Linked DNA regions of Homo sapiens: region 2 is linked to region 1. The links are contacts of gene promoters, found by promoter capture Hi-C in human tissues and cell types (Jung and others, 2019). All regions are on one chromosome and are shown on one strand. Each heading gives the region's core, a stretch centred on a gene start or on the middle of the fragment in contact. The rest is flanking DNA. Distances are from core to core; before and after follow the strand shown. Region 1 holds the start of RNF6 (ring finger protein 6). Region 2 overlaps GTF3A (general transcription factor IIIA).

Region 1 (7,907 bases), core at 2,201-4,700:
GATACACTTAGGAATCTATAAGCTATAACTGTGGATTTTTGTCAGTTAAAAAGAAATTAAGGGAGCATTTATAGAGAAAACTTCAAATATTTACTTGAATTTTATCCCAAATACTTCATTATATGGGTCATCAATATACAAACACACAATATATAAACATACAAATTTCCATTAGTTCATTTGTAAAAACTTTATGGAACACATTGGGCTTTGGGGGGAGCTATTAATTCAGCTGAATAAATAAATTATAATACCCCAAATGAGTTCAAATTGGGTTTTAAGTCATATTTTATTTGTATAAAAATTACAAATAGGACCATATATGTAAATACTTAACACCATTATGTACATTAACCTGTTTCTTAGTTTGGCATTTGTATAATAGTGCTCCATGTCCCCTATTTTCACCTTATAAAATACAGAAGCCAGTGATTTTCTACTTTATTATACTAAAAAGTTCTTAAACTCACAAAAACAATATACTATATTTTCATAAAGAGAAGCAAGGAAAAAGAATACCAATTCTCCTTATCTTGAAATCCTTCCATCTAAATGATGAAAAAAGGGTGTTTCCTCTTTTACCCATCTCTTACCAGGGGTGCCTAAAAGATTATGGTCTCTCATAAGCCGATAATCTTCATCATTGAGTTCATTAATAAACTGATAATAGGCCTCTTCTCTGTGGAGACGCTCTTGCTGCCATCTTCTCTCATTTTCATGATGATTATGGTCTTGAGGTAAGGTTTCTTCACTGCCACCATCTGATCTCGATCTAGACTGATTCATCCTGAGATTCCTGGCTTTCTGTTCAAACAATATAAACAACATTCAAGGTGTTAAGTCATGGACCACATTTGGCTTTGTATTTTTAACTTGCAGTTTTTCTTAATTTTTAAATGTTGTCCCCTACCCAAATACTGTATTTGCCAAATCTTGCAGTGAGAAGCTTACATATAAAATGAAAAACAGCTTCTAGGAAATACAACACAATTGGCACTTACTTCTTTGCCTAAAGCCATTAAGTCAGACTGGATTTGGGTTTACCACACAATGCTCATGCCTGAATACCATAGTGATTATCTCATTTTTGACCATGTTGACGATCTGGAAAAGTTGATCCAGAAGTCCTCATTTATGTTTCAGGATCTGGGTACTTCACATTAATTACAAATTTTAGGCTTGAATTATGCACATTCTTCACTTAATGAGCAAAGGGATACTGGGATGATATAATTTACATTTGTTTTCAGCAAGGTATTCTTTCCAAAATAAGGCTCATGAATGTAATATTATCCCCCACTGCACTTTGATGAGGTGAAAATCATTTAGCCTAATTAATATCTACTGAACAAACTGGAAGGTGGTCTCTTATTAAAGCTTACCAGGAAGACTTTGAAACCCAACAGGAAACAAGACATCATGTATGGCTCAAGGATTGTGAAAGTGCATCAGAGCACTTTGTATCACCCCATATCAAGCCTCATCCTTAAGCCTGGAATGGTTAGTCCCAGGAGTTTCAGAATGCCAGTGAAACTTCCTGACTTTGCCTAAGAAACCACTATTTTTGGATTATATTTAAGTGTCACTCCTGAGAAGCTCACTTTTAAATTACATGGAAATCAAGAGAGAAAGATGTTTGTTTCACAAATATTTTAGAATTTCTTAAATACATCTATTCAGTAAGTCACACTAAAGCAATGGTTCTCAAACTCACTTAAGGGTATTTTTAAAAATCTAGATGCCCAAATCTCATCCCCAATCCTTGATTAGAGTTTTCCAGGGTAGGACCAGGTCTGCTGTTAAGAGCTAATTTGGGTGTTCTGCAGATGAAATAAACTATTCCTCGACAATTTCTGGCATGTCACTAAAGGGTATGAGTAATACAGCACCTGACTCAGTAGAGGCTGGAGGCTCAAATGGCTAGGCTACCAGTGAAGCAACTGTGCAACTCTGCCTCTCGAAATACACTAGGTATTTAATAAGCAAGCTGCTTTAAATATAAGGTGAAATTAGCCTACAAGTCTAAAATACTGTTGGAGTAAGCAACTATTCAATTTCACCTGTAACACTAAATTACAAATTCAAGGATTTTTTTCACTGTGGTTATTTTATTATGTCATTTTGAACAAATGACCTAGTAACATTATCCACTCAAATATGAATTAACACTACTAAAAACTCAAGATCTCTATCTTCAGATTAAGACCATAATTAGCAAAGAGCATATTTCGTAGGTACAGCAATAATAGGATTTTTGTAATAAATAATTTTACAAGTTGAAGCCTATCATAAAATCAAGTTACCCTAATATTATTTAAAACTTGAGCTTCTCCTTAAAGGTAATTTTCTTATACAGTTAATCACAATGAAAACAAAGCGAATACCTTATTTTCCTTTCAACACGCTTTTAACATATGCCATGGTATCCATCCTTCAATTGTTTGTGCCTTTTTTGAGAGCTGCCCATCTGAAGCAATAAAAGAGAGTTGAATAATTCAATAAACTGTTTCTTTAAAGGCCAGGAACGGGTGGTAGTCTCCCCACTCTGCTGCAAAGCCAAAGCAAATTCTCCAGTGGATTTTGTTAGACACATCTAGAAAATTAGATCCCCATACAATTAGGTCACGAAAACCTCCCGCAAGGCCCCTACCTTCCGCAACAAACTTAGGCCTTTCGTCCTACACTGTCACTGTTCCTGGGTTTACGCCTCCTCTCTCAAAGGCCTTCCTTCCTATCCCGTTCCCATTCGGATGTTACCAGGGTTAGGCGTCTCCGGCTTACTTCTAAACCTTGACTTTCTTGCCACCCCCGCCCTCCGTCCCGCTACTGGTTTCTTTCCCGGCCGTTGCGACGGAAGCTCGCGCCGGGGGACGATCCCCACTACGATAAATAAAGTGGGCTCAAGAGGCCCAACCAACCTCTTCCCAACCGAGCCTCAAGTAACGCTTCCCTTAGAGACCTAGATTCTCACAAGGAAGCAGGTGATAGACGGTGCATCCCAACCAATCACCAGCCAGCGGAGCGCAATAAGAAGGCAGTTAACCAATCGGAGAAGAGATGGGTGGCTCGAAGGATGGCCTGCTTTCCCCGGCGTCTCCAGGAAGTAGTGGTGGGACCCAGATCTTTCCCTCGAGCCCACCTCTCCAGGTCTTGGGCCTTCGCCCTCCTGTCCGGAGAACGTGTGCTGTGGGCGGCCGTTCTCTCGGGTGCTGGAGGCTGTGGTTGGGAGGCGGGATAGGCTTGCCGCCGCGCCTCCGGAGCCCGCTGTGCCCTCGAATTGGCCACTGAGGAGAGAAGCCGGAAGCCCGTGCTGCAGCGTGGGGTCGTCCAGCTGGAGGGGATACTCGGGAGGAAGAACGGCAGGCCCCAGCCCTTCTTTCCCGACAGCCACGCCGCCCACTTGGCGGCGGGGAGTCGCTCCGCAGCCGGCCCGGAGCTCGCCCGTGCAACTGAAAACTGCGTCCGTCGGGAGCTAGGGTGCCTGGCGTCCCGCGTTCCGCCCTCTTGCGCCGCCCTTACAGTGCCTCCTCCTCGAGGCCAAATGCCCGGCCGCTCAGCGCTCGTGGCAGCCGCGTAGTTGCAGAGACACGGTCTGCTTTCCAGGCTTGGGAAGTCCCAGCACTTAACTCTGCGCGTCGGTGTCGCTCGTTTGCCAGCCAGACTATAAAGTGCACCCAACGGTGTATGCGTCTCTTTACTTCCGGGTGTAACGTACTACCCAGCCAGGCCCTTTCCCTTGCTGTGCTTTGGAACCTGGAAATTACAAACCCTAATAAATTCTGAAGTCTGTCTGTCTGTCTATCTCTATTTGAGACAAGGTCTCATCCTGTCGCCCAGGCTAGAGCGATCGTAGCTCACTGCAGCCTCCAGCGATCCTCCCTCCTCATCCCAGTAGCTGGAACTACAGGCGCTTGCCATTAATTTCACATTTTTTCTTTTGTAGAGACGGGGGTCTCGCTATGTTGCCCAGGCTGGTTTCGTACTCGGCCTCAAGCAATCCTCTCACCTCAGCAAAATGGGATTACAGGCATGAGGCACCGCACCCCACTATATTTTGTGTTTTTTCACCTTCCCGCTAGGAAAGCAGTTTGAAACTCCCAACATTCCTCCCTCTGATTTTATTTCTGAGATGTGAGGCTTACTAAACTTACCTCACCGTTAGTTAAGATGCTGAGTAGGTCTCTGTCTAACCTGGTATAGTCCCCTTTCCTGACATCCCTACCATCTGATGACTTCATCACTGGAGAGTGCTCACAATGCCGTTACTTGTTATTCTTCCGTTTGTTCTTTCATTTCTGCATTAACTTTTGAGGAACTACCATATCCCCATTATTATGCTGGGCACCTGGATAACAAGCTACATGCAGTCCTTAGCATCAATGAGCTACCAGTGTAGTAAGGATCTATGGACAAGTGTTTAAAATAAGCATATGGATATGGATACTAAAATGGAAATATATAAAACAGCCTAGAAAGCCCTTCCAGATCTTTCTTCTGCTTACATTTACAGGCTGTTGTCTTGGCACTCCGAAACTGCTTGAAGTTCCGCCACAAGATATGGGAACTCCTAAGCAACCCCCAACTCCACTTTTACCTAATTTCCTCTGTCTCCCAAAACTCAGCTCAGTTCTCATCTTTAAGGAATTTTTCCTGATACCTCTGAAATAACACCCTTACCTCACCCTCCAGCCCGATATTTACACATAAAACTAAGCAAATGTCCCTTTTGGGGGCTCCCATACTCCCTCTATATATAAAACCCTATTTTAGCATGTATTCATGTATTTAACAAATAGTGAGTGTGACTATGTATTAGGTGCTGGTGATGACAGCCGTGAATCAGACAGTCATGTCCTCATAGAATGAAGTCCTTGCCCTCTTTTCCCATGGAAAAAGAGCCATTGAGCAAATACTTAAGATGATTTTCTGTTTTTAGGTCTTTACTACCTAGAGTCTGAACTGCTTAAGTGTGATCAAATGGTCTAATTCATTTTTGTAATCCCAGAACTTAGCACAGCACTTGGCAGAACATTCTCCTCAGCCTACTGCATAGATGAGCAGAGAAAAATGCAATCTTTTGGCAAACGGGATTAATGCACACAGTACAACGACTTCAGATATTGTGAACACACATCATAGAAAATAACAAGTAGAAATCATTTTTAATATCTGTGAATTTTGGAGAGTGCAATCAAATGCAATAATCCAAGTGCAAATACTTTTTACATGTTGAGTGGAAAAGACATATGTGTCTCTTCCTATTTTTCCTATTTCCTATTATATACCCTAAGAATAAAAAAAAAACTATTATAAAAATGTCTAAATAAAAATCCAATCAAGTGATTTACCAGGTAGGAAGTTGCAGGTTTTTGTGAGTAGAGAATCAGGTAATGTATGTAACTTGAATCCAACACCTTGCTTCAGTTTTTGTAGTCCAAGACAAAATGACTACAAAGAGGGGCTTAGATACAACAGCTGGAACAGACAGATGAATCATTCTGGATATCTACTCCAGGTCTCAGAACCTGCCAAGGTCTCTGGTCTAATTAATTTCTGTTTATTGGATTGGTACCTGGCCTTTGTAGTGTGTATGCCTCATGTAACTCCTGGACTTTTTACAATTAGGAATACAAAGATCTAAAATAATTAAAACCATAACATTAAAAGGATTCTCTGTATATCTGGTAAATTATGTACTTGTCATGTTTAAAAGATTTTGGCTTCATAAAACGACAGCCTTAATTACAATTTAAAACAAAATGGAGCACTCGATTTCAAGTTTTAAGTTGAAGTTGAAATCTTGCTAAGTTTATGGATGGCATCAGAGCAGCAAAGAGAAATATAGGCTCCCCATATTGTTTTATTATTAGTTTAAAAATTATTATATAAGATTTAAAGACGAAATTACATGTAACATTTGAAGTACTTGTGAATGAGATAAAATATTAAATGTATAAATACAGTTTAAAATGTTGGTTTGAAGATATTAAATATGTATATGAATGAGATTGAAAGTTAGTGAAGGGCTAATTCCAAATGACTGTTAAGATTTACTATACTTGACCAGGCACAGCTGCTCACACCTGTAATCCCAGCACTTTGGGAGGCCAAGGCGGGCAGATCATGAGGTCAAGAGATTGAGACCATCCTGGCCAACATGGTGAAACCCCATCTCTACTAAAATTACAAAAATTAGCTGGGTGTGGTGGCGCACACCTGTAGTCCCAGCTACTTGGGAGGCTGAGGCAGGAGAATCGCTTGAACTTGGGAGGCGGAGGTTGCAGTGAGCTGAGATTGTGCCACTGCACTCCAGCCTGGTAACAGAGCGAGACTCCATCTCAAAAAAAACAAAAACAGAAAGATTTACTATGCTTACCACTAGAATAATAAGAGCTGTAAACCAAACGTAAAAACCTAAGTTGTAACTAGGACATTGAATTTGGAACTAATAAGTTGAATATTAACTGTTTAAGACAAAGATTTTTTAAATAATATGTTCTTTATTTCCTTATAGCTCTTTTAACAGCCTTATTGAGATATAATTCACATACCATAAAATTTGCCCATTTAAGGTATACAATCCAGTGGTTTTTAGTATAATCAGACTTGCGCAGCATTCACCACAATCTAATTGTAAAACAGGTTCATCTCCCCAGAGGAAACCCTATACCTATTAACAATTACTCTCATTCCTACTCCACCCTATTCCCAGCCCCTGGCAATTACTAATGTACTTTCTGTCTCTGGATTTGCCTATTCTGAGCATTTCAAACAAATGGTATTCTACGTCATGTGGTCTTTTGTGTCTGGTTTCTTTCACTTAGCATAATGTTTTCAAGGGTCATCATGTTGTAGCATGTCTCAGTATTTCATTCCTCAAGAGAAACTTCGGAATAGTCCTTTTCTGCATATAAAAACAACCCTCAAGGATACTCCTGATAACCAGGGTCTTAATTAGGCCAGAGATGGTCTTGGATCAGGTTATCTAGAAACGAAGCCTGAGACAAGGATTGTTATTGAAGTGTTTTATTAGGACGGTGCACTCTGGAGAAGGGGATAGAGGAAGCAGGATTGGCCAGGAGGACAAGGAAACAAGAATGAGCCTCCACTGATCCCGTGAAATTCACCACCAAGTGGCCTTGTTGGCCAGCTCTTTGTACGTACATGCCTGTCCCTCATTGGGTGAGATCTTCAGGGGCAGGATTGCAGCAGAACCTCATGCGTGAGGTGGCTCCTGTTTTAGCCAAGGGAAATTCTCTAGAGAAGAAGGCAGCTGAAATTGTTATCCAATACTCCCAGCAGCTGGAGTACAGATGCATGAGCTTATAGAGTGGATTTGGGCAGGAAACAAAAAACGTTCACTATGGTCCACGCTTTGTATTGCTGAGATCTTTTGCTTCTCATGTGAAATTTCTCCATCTGAGCAGTTTCTAATCCCAATTTCTGGGAAATTTTTAAAAGACAAGGGTATTGGGACAAACTACAGCCCCTGTTGCTGCAGCTGGTTCCAAGGCCATAACTGATACTCATTATCTCCCTCCTGCACTACCCTTTCTAGATTCCCCTCCACCTCAGCTAGCACTTCTGCTGGTGCAGGTGGCTTGACTGATGGATTGAACCAGGCACTCATCCCTGAGGGGTTCAGACCCTGATTATCATGCTTTTACCAGGCTACGGTGGCTGTACTTATTCATTTACAGTTACAACTAGGCACAGGAATACCAAGAAATGCCCCCATTGGATCTCCTGAGTACCCAGTGCATTCCTCTCTGGTCTAATTATGTAGCATCAGCCTCCACCTTGTTCTGATGGTTTGCTTGCAGGTCTTCCAACATTAAGAGCCCACAGTGATCAGAGAGCAGCCATAGCTTTCAGTTTAGTGGGACTCTTACTGTGTCCTATGATGA
Region 2 (7,907 bases), core at 3,557-6,056, 1.2 Mb after region 1:
TACATATTGGGTACAGTGTATGCTGCTTGAGTGATGGTGCGCTAAAATCTCAGCACCACTATAGGATTCATCCACGTAACGAAAAAACACTTGCAACCCCAAAAGCCATTGAAATTTAAAGCAACGGTGGGACAAATCTTCTGAAAGCTTCCTAATCAACATTTTTCTGTTAAAATGTACTGCATATGCACATTTATATATTGGGAGCATTTTAAAGGTTTACTTTGCTCTGAAAGAAATATTTAATGTGTTTCAAAATAATTTTTGAGATTATTCTAGTTGTGGTTAAGCTTAAAGGCTGAGAAATTACTTAACTATTCAAATAGAGCCTGTGCAACTATATGAAATGTCATTATGGAGACACTCATTATGCTTTTCCTGTAGAACAAAACAAGTAGTTGGGTTTATCTGCAATTAGGGTTTTTTGAGGAACGTGAGGGTGGCTGGACAAGTTGGGTAGACCTGCAAAAGGGCCAGCGGCTCTCTGCATGGCTCTGGCCATCCGGCACTTTCCCTTGACTTGCACAGGCTGCCCTGTGCCTTGGAGTTGCTGCAGTGACCTTGCCTGTCCTTGCTTGTGGGTCTGCTGCTGCTGCTTTGCTGCTGATGGCTTTAGCACAGAGGGGGCCCGTGCTTTTTATTGCTCACCAGAGGCAGATGCATCTACTGCTGTGCTGTCTCGCACACCCCCTATGCAGCATCATTAGGAAAGCTAGACACAAGTGATTCAGAATGGCTTAGGGGTTTATCTAAGCCAAGTCAGATAACCTCTTGAACTATCTTTTTGTAGCCATGAAAGCAGAGTATATTTCCAGAGGTATAAAGATGAAAACTGTTTAAATGGGTCAAAAAAAGTAACGTGACTTTTTTCTCCAACAGTTTGTTTTGTCCTAAAGCTGGTCAAGTAACTTGAATCTCACCTGTGATGAGAGCTACATTTTAACATGGGTTTGGTTATGGGAAGAGGCAAGACTTTGGTGGGAGAAACAGGACAAAGTGCCATTGACCTTGAGCGGAGTTCTCTGTGAAAATGGATTGGCTAATACCTCATGTGTTGCCAATGCAGGTGTACCCAGGAAGGATGTGGGAAACACTTTGCATCACCCAGCAAGCTGAAACGACATGCCAAGGCCCACGAGGGTGTGTACGGATAGCCTGGGTGTGCTCCGAGGGGGATGCCAAATCCTGGGCGCCTTTGAATCTGTTCTGTGATCACGCTGAAAAGATGGGAACCCTGTGAACAGGGGACACCATCCTGCTTATTTGGGTCTTACACTCTTGTCCAAAGAGGCACTGTATATGTCTGTTTTTCCACTACCGTATCATTGCTGTTCACATGTAATGTGTTGTTTGTTCACAACAAGCGCCTGGTTACACATTACACTGACGAATGTGCTGATGCTCCAGCCATGGCTTTGATGCTTCTGTCATTTTTAACCTCTTCTATTAATATTTACTGCCTGTGCCATTCTTTTCCTTGTTGGCCATTCACAAGGCTTGGATAATCGTGTGACATTTTGAGAGCCATCAGATGTTACGTTTCTCAAAAAAAAAAAAAAAAGACTTGATTATATTAACTATTTGAATCTATGATCTGTTTCCTTGAGGGATTTTTGCTAATCTGTATTTCAATTTCCCAGGTCCTAGAATTTATGATTTTTTTTTTTTTAAGAGGTTAGTAGCTAACAGTGAGAGGCAGCCTCATTGTTTTTAGTTTCTAGTTGGGTGGAACTCAGCCCTAGTGTTGTATACTTATTAATCCCATTTTAGTGCTTTGCACATATCCATTGTTATTCAGTGTTTTTCTCTGGGTCCTTCCAGTTTATTTTCTTCCTTAGCTGTACTCTTTTAAAAAAAAAAAACAAAAAAAAACTTTTTTTTTTTTTTTTGTGATAAAGTTAAAATATAATGTACCCTACTTTTTTTGTGCAGTATGACACTTACAAGATGGCCAGACTAGAGGAAGCCAGAGGTGGGCATGGTAACACTACTGAAAAGTTGGTGGTGTGCCATGGACAAGGGACCGACTGCAGAGTATGTTTGCTGAGGAAAATAGAGGCGAGGATAGAGCAGGCAGGGGAAGGGAAATAAGACATGGAGATAGGAGGTTAAAGCAGTTGGGAGTCCATACACAGCCTACCCAACTTCCTGAGAACTCTTAGAGAGGAAAAGGCATCCTTAGGCATCCTTCCTGTGAAGTTTGCCTATTCCGTGATCACGCTGAGAAGATGGGAACTCTGAAGTTTGCTTCACAGGAAGGTAAAATCCTTAAAGGGAGGCACCTTGCTGTGCCACTGTTCAGTTTTACTATAACATCAATCTTTTTTTAGTTTTTATTCCCACCTCAAGAGGCTGAGTTGAATACTATTAGGCGGGGAATGGAAAATTATATAGGCACCTAAGTTTCCTTTCTAGTTATGGTCAGTGTTTACACTGAGTATTCATGACAGACAATGCACCAATTTTTTTAATAGGCTATGTATGTCAAAAAGGATGTTCCTTTGTGGCAAAAACATGGACGGAACTTCTGAAACATGTGAGAGAAACCCATAAAGGTAAGGCAGGCATGAATGGCAGGCATGGTGTAAATGTTTGTCCCCACAGAACTGATTTAGTGCTTTTCAAGAGTGAAATGCTGTGTGCTTTAAAGTAAAAGGGTTTCTCTATGATATTTTGTGAAGTGCTGGGTATGATGTTGTTGGAAAGGTGAGCAGAGCTGTGCCAGGTCTCTGAGCCACCCCACCATGCACAATTAGCATGCTGAAGGCGGTGGCAGGTCTGTAGTGAAGAATTTCGGGAGGCACTGCTGTTCTGTGGGACCGCCTGGGAAACAGTACCCTGCATACTGGGGGACAAGGAAGGACACTGGTCTGCTTCATTTTCTGTACCTCCCCACAGTCACCTTCCTGAGAGCCCTGCCTCTTGGCAAGTGAACAATGACTGTGTGGCATTTAAGAACTTCAGAGAATTGAGACAAACTTCCTAGGTGATAAAAACTGGGGTTGTTTCCTTGGGAATTTCTGATTTGTATATAGTGATCAGGTTTCAGGCACTGAATGTTACTTATATATTAGGTATTAATTTTTTCTAAATGGTAATATCTGGGGAAATTTGTGAAATTTGTCTGTCTGTCCCACCAGAGGAAATACTATGTGAAGTATGCCGGAAAACATTTAAACGCAAAGATTACCTTAAGCAACACATGAAAACTCATGCCCCAGAAAGGGATGTATGTCGCTGTCCAAGAGAAGGCTGTGGAAGAACCTATACAACTGTGTTTAATCTCCAAAGCCATATCCTCTCCTTCCATGAGGAAAGCCGCCCTTTTGTGTGTGAACATGCTGGCTGTGGCAAAACATTTGCAATGAAAGTAAGCACTCACCCTCATACTCATGGTCCTATAGTCTATGCTTTCACAACATGGTTTTCATATTAATATTTCATTAATAACTTTCTCTTTCATTGTAGCAAAGTCTCACTAGGCATGCTGTTGTACATGATCCTGACAAGAAGAAAATGAAGCTCAAAGTAAGTTGAAACTACTTAGGCAAGCTTAGTTTTCAAGTGGAAATTGTTTAAGGCCAGAAGGAGTCTGTTTGGAATTCTTTTCACCTGCTTTACTGTTTGAGTCTGCACTACTGTTGAAGACTTTACTTCCTCATAAAGCAATGTTGTACACTATATCTGCTGGTACATATGACTATCGTAAAATTAACTCAGACAGTTTTGATTTTGAATTCTAATCGTGTGTCTTCCTTATTCCCAAAGGTCAAAAAATCTCGTGAAAAACGGAGTTTGGCCTCTCATCTCAGTGGATATATCCCTCCCAAAAGGAAACAAGGGCAAGGCTTATCTTTGTGTCAAAACGGAGAGTCACCCAACTGTGTGGAAGACAAGATGCTCTCGACAGTTGCAGTACTTACCCTTGGCTAAGAACTGCACTGCTTTGTTTAAAGGACTGCAGACCAAGGAGCGAGCTTTCTCTCAGAGCATGCTTTTCTTTATTAAAATTACTGATGCAGAACATTTGATTCCTTATCATTTCCATGGTCTTTGTTCAAAGTGTCTCTTTCCTGGGTCTCTTGAGTTTCTTTATATGCCTTCTCCTCATTTTTGCTGAAAGCACGAAGAACACACATTAAAGCTTTTCCTCCTTGAACAGCTTGTGGCCTAGATGAGAATGTAGCTATTCCAGGCATAGTCTGGAGTATTTGATGAAATATCTCCTCCTAAAAAAGGGAAACAGCCAAAGATTAATTTAAAATCAGAGGCTTTGGTGCTTTCTAATGTTCTGCTTGAACATTCACAAAAACTGGCACCCTTGAATTGCTGCTGTCGGTTAAGTGATTAGCTAATCAGTTCATACGTATCTGGTTAAGTTGACTGAAATCTGTACAATAACACCATGTAACTAAACTGACATGCTGAATGCTTCCTAATTTTAAATCTCCACTTCGTCATGGCACGAAGAGGCTACGTTTGGCTCAGCATTACCCTCTCCCACAAACAGAAAGCACTGGGTTTGGGCATTGGCAAAATACCTCCTCATCCCCAAGGTGTCAGCCGAGCAGTTCTCAGCACTCTCTATTGCCCCTAACAGAGTCTCTCTCAGTGACTGAAACAAATGGATACCTGGGCTCAAGAAATTCTGCATCAGCTGGGTTGCGACCTATGCTTAAGTGACTCTACTGTGGAGCTGGATTACTAAGGATACCCTTAGTGGATGATAAAGTTATCTAACTTTTAAAAAAAAAAAGCAAAATAGGTATTCCATAAACTTATGGGATTGGAAACTACACACTTTCTAGAAGACAGTCTACGTAATTAATGCCCCTATAAGTACAAAGAAGAAACAAAAAATCTATAAAGTTTCTAATTTTCCTGTTTAAGGGTTATTCTACAATTTATAAAACAATAGTATATTGCTTTTAAGGAATAATGTGTTCATATGGCAAAATACGCTGTAATGGAAACTATATCTACAGTATGCTTAGTTTTGAAAAGCAAACTAGAAAGCTGTTAACATCACTGGGTGGAAGAATTACCAGTCACTTTGTCTTTATATTTCAGATTTTCTACAATTTTTTTTTTTTTTTTTTTTTTTTGAGACGGAGTCTTGCTCTGTCACCCAGGCTGGAGTGCAGTGGCGCGATCTCGGCTCACTGCAAGCTCCGCCTCCCGGGTTCACGCCATTCTCCTGCCTCAGCTTCCCCAGTAGCTGGGACTACAGGTGCCCGCCACCACGCCTGGCTAATTTTTTGTATTTTTAGTAGAGACGGGGTTTCACCATGTTAGCCAGGTTGGTCTCAATCTCCTGATCTCGTGATCCGCCCACCTTGGCCTCCCAAAATGCTGGGATTACAGGCGTGAGCCACCGCGCCTGGCCTACAATTGTATTTTTAGATCAGAAGACCCAAAGCACAAGCAGTGGCTTGTACCTTCTTTACTTACCATTTCATTTTCTGACACGTCTACATTTTTTCCTTTCTTTATGGTAATCTGGACTAGGTGTTTTTTCTTAATCCACTGCTGAATCTGTTTAGTCTTTGTGTCCAAATCATGTTGTCCAATATTTGAAGACAAAATCAGTTCCTTTCTCAGGGTTGGTCCTGGTTTGAAACAGATAGGGTGCAAGGACTACTGACTAGTCCACTGTGAACCCTGAACTTCCCAACATGCCCATCATAAAATCCTAGGTTGCCACCTGACAATCTTCTCATCTGGCTTTCAGTTTCACAGACCAGTAAATGTCTTTTCAAATGGGGAAGATACACATAAAGGTACCAATTTTTTACCTGCCCTGGAAGGGTACTTAAAATCTGAAATGCTTCCATTTATTGTTAACCATCGTTTGTTGAAAGAACACCAAAAGATAGTCGTTTAAAGGATCAAGTTTGGCTTCATGGTGCACTTAACATCCTTATCTATCAGCTGTGGGTTGGCATCTGGGAGTGCACTACCCACTCCTTTTGAGATGCTCTCCTTGCTATAAGGGGTCAGCCAGACTGTTGGACAGGTAAGGGTCCCTACATCCTGTGTTCATGCCCTCTGTCTCCAGAAATCCTGCCTACTGGAAAATTATAGAGAAGGAACCGGCCACTCAATAAAGGTGTTGGGACAATTGAGAAGTTTATAGATGACAAAAAGTTAGGTCTCCCCAGGTATACTAATGTTCTACAGGTGAAAAATACAACTTTAAAACAAACAGAAGAAAAGACAGAATGGTTTGTGATCTCAGGATAGGGGATGGAACTCATTAAGAAAAAAAGGCAAAATGAAAAATCTAACTGGGATACGGTTTTTTCCATCATACACAACAGAGAACCCTATAAATCGGAGAAAAACCATCTACGTAGAAAAATAAAGGAATATAAACACGCAATTCACAGAAGAAAAAAGTGAAATACACATTAATTTCTCACCATTAAAATGACAAATGAGGGAGGAGGTAGAGAAACTGCATACACTGCTGCTGAGCAGTTTGATCCATTTAGGTTCATAGACCCTAGAGTATGCACCAGGGTTCATCATAAAGATTGGGGGCCAGGTGTGCTGGCTCACGCCTATAATCCCAGCACTTTGGGAGGCTGAAGCAGGCAGATCGTTGGAGCTCAGGAGTTCAAGACCTGAGCAACATAGCGAGACCCCATCTCTACAAAAAAAAAAAAAAAAAAAAAAGGCCAGGCATGGTGGTGTGCACCTGTGGTCCCAGCTGTGTGGGAGGCAGAGGTGGGAGGATTGCTGGATCCCAGGAGATGGAGGCTGCAGTGAGCCGAAATCACACCACAGCACTCCAGCCTGGGCAACAGAGCAAGACTGTTTTTTTTTTTTTTTTTTTTTTTTTTAAACACAGGGTCTCGCTCTGTCACCCAGGCTGAAGTGCAGTGGCATGATCATGGTTCTTCACTGCAGCCTTTGCCTCCTAGGCTCAAGTGATCCTCCCACCTCAGCCTCCCAAGTAGCTGGGATCACAGGTTTGCACCACTACACCTTGCTAATTTTAAAATTTTTTGTAGAGATGGGGTTTTGCTATATTGCCCAGGCTGGTATTGAATTCCTGAGCTCAAGCCATCCACCTGCCTTGGCCTCCCAAAGTGCTGGGATTACAGACGTGAGCCACCACGCCCAGTGACCTTTTTTTTTTTAAGTGACATAGTTTGACGTCATTATCCTCCCTGGTTGGTCTCTTCTGAATATTGTTTTCCAGTCAACATCCTTGTTAAATGTGGCATTACAAAACTGAGCCGCAGATAACATGTGGTTTTCTGAAGGCACACAACCTCACGATGCAGTGCTGGGAGCAGTCATCTGATGCCTGTCCCCGTGCGCCATCCATTGAACTTTCATAATGATTGGCACTTTTTAGGAACTATGAAAAACAAACATCTTTGCTTAATATCCAATTCCTGACTTCTGTGAGGCTTAAATGACAAGTGCCTCGTCAAGTGACTGGTTGTATATCTAAGAGTGTTGCTACTGATATTGCAACACAATGCTTTGGCATGGGAGATGCTCTGTGAATCACTTCAGAGTCGAAAAGGTGCTTCCAGGCTAGGCGCAGTGGATCACGCCTGTAATCCCAGCACTTTGGGAGGCCGAGGAGGGCAGATCACTTAAGGCCAGGAGTTCAAGACCAGCCTGGCCAACATGGTGAAACCCCCTCTCTATTAAAAATACAAAAATTAGCCGGGCGTGGTGGCGGGCGCCTGTAATCCCAGCCACTGGGGAGGCTAAGGCAGGAGAATCGCTTGAGCCTGGGAGGCGAAGGTTGCAGTGAGCACACATCGCACCACTGCACTCCAGCCTGGGCGGCAGGCAGAGACTCATCTCAAAAAAATAAAAAGGTGCTTCCAGATAATTAACCAAACACCTCCACTTTAGAGTTGAAGAAGGGGAAGAAAAACAAA

What was found. The method cuts DNA at HindIII sites, captures the fragments that hold promoters and counts their contacts. A contact is called where the count stands out against the background at its distance.
Region 2: a contact is called between a fragment that was not itself captured here and the fragment with the promoter of RNF6 in region 1, in 1 of the 25 tissues and cell types used here (dorsolateral prefrontal cortex).

The regions. Positions count from the first base shown.
Region 1 is chr13:26,218,864-26,226,770 of GRCh38, forward strand. RNF6 (ring finger protein 6) reads right to left here and starts at 3,451. Exons shown (of 5, transcript NM_005977.4): 1 at 3,140-3,451; 2 at 2,385-2,467; 3 at 594-804. The coding sequence starts at 786. RefSeq lists enhancers at 2,223-3,104, 3,105-3,986, 3,132-3,511 and a silencer at 2,632-2,681. The HindIII fragment of the contact is 8,375 bases long and covers 1,162-7,907 here.
Region 2 is chr13:27,431,665-27,439,571 of GRCh38, forward strand. It overlaps GTF3A (general transcription factor IIIA), which reads left to right. Exons shown (of 9, transcript NM_002097.3): 5 at 1,067-1,140; 6 at 2,475-2,555; 7 at 3,141-3,370; 8 at 3,469-3,528; 9 at 3,769-4,159. The coding sequence ends at 3,933. It overlaps MTIF3 (mitochondrial translational initiation factor 3), which reads right to left. Exons shown (of 5, transcript NM_152912.5): 4 at 5,452-5,609; 5 at 3,979-4,229. The coding sequence ends at 4,011. Among named protein-coding and RNA genes, the nearest start is that of GTF3A, 11 kb to the left of the region's middle. RefSeq lists enhancers at 2,821-4,020, 7,862-7,907. The HindIII fragment of the contact is 5,770 bases long and covers 1,922-7,691 here.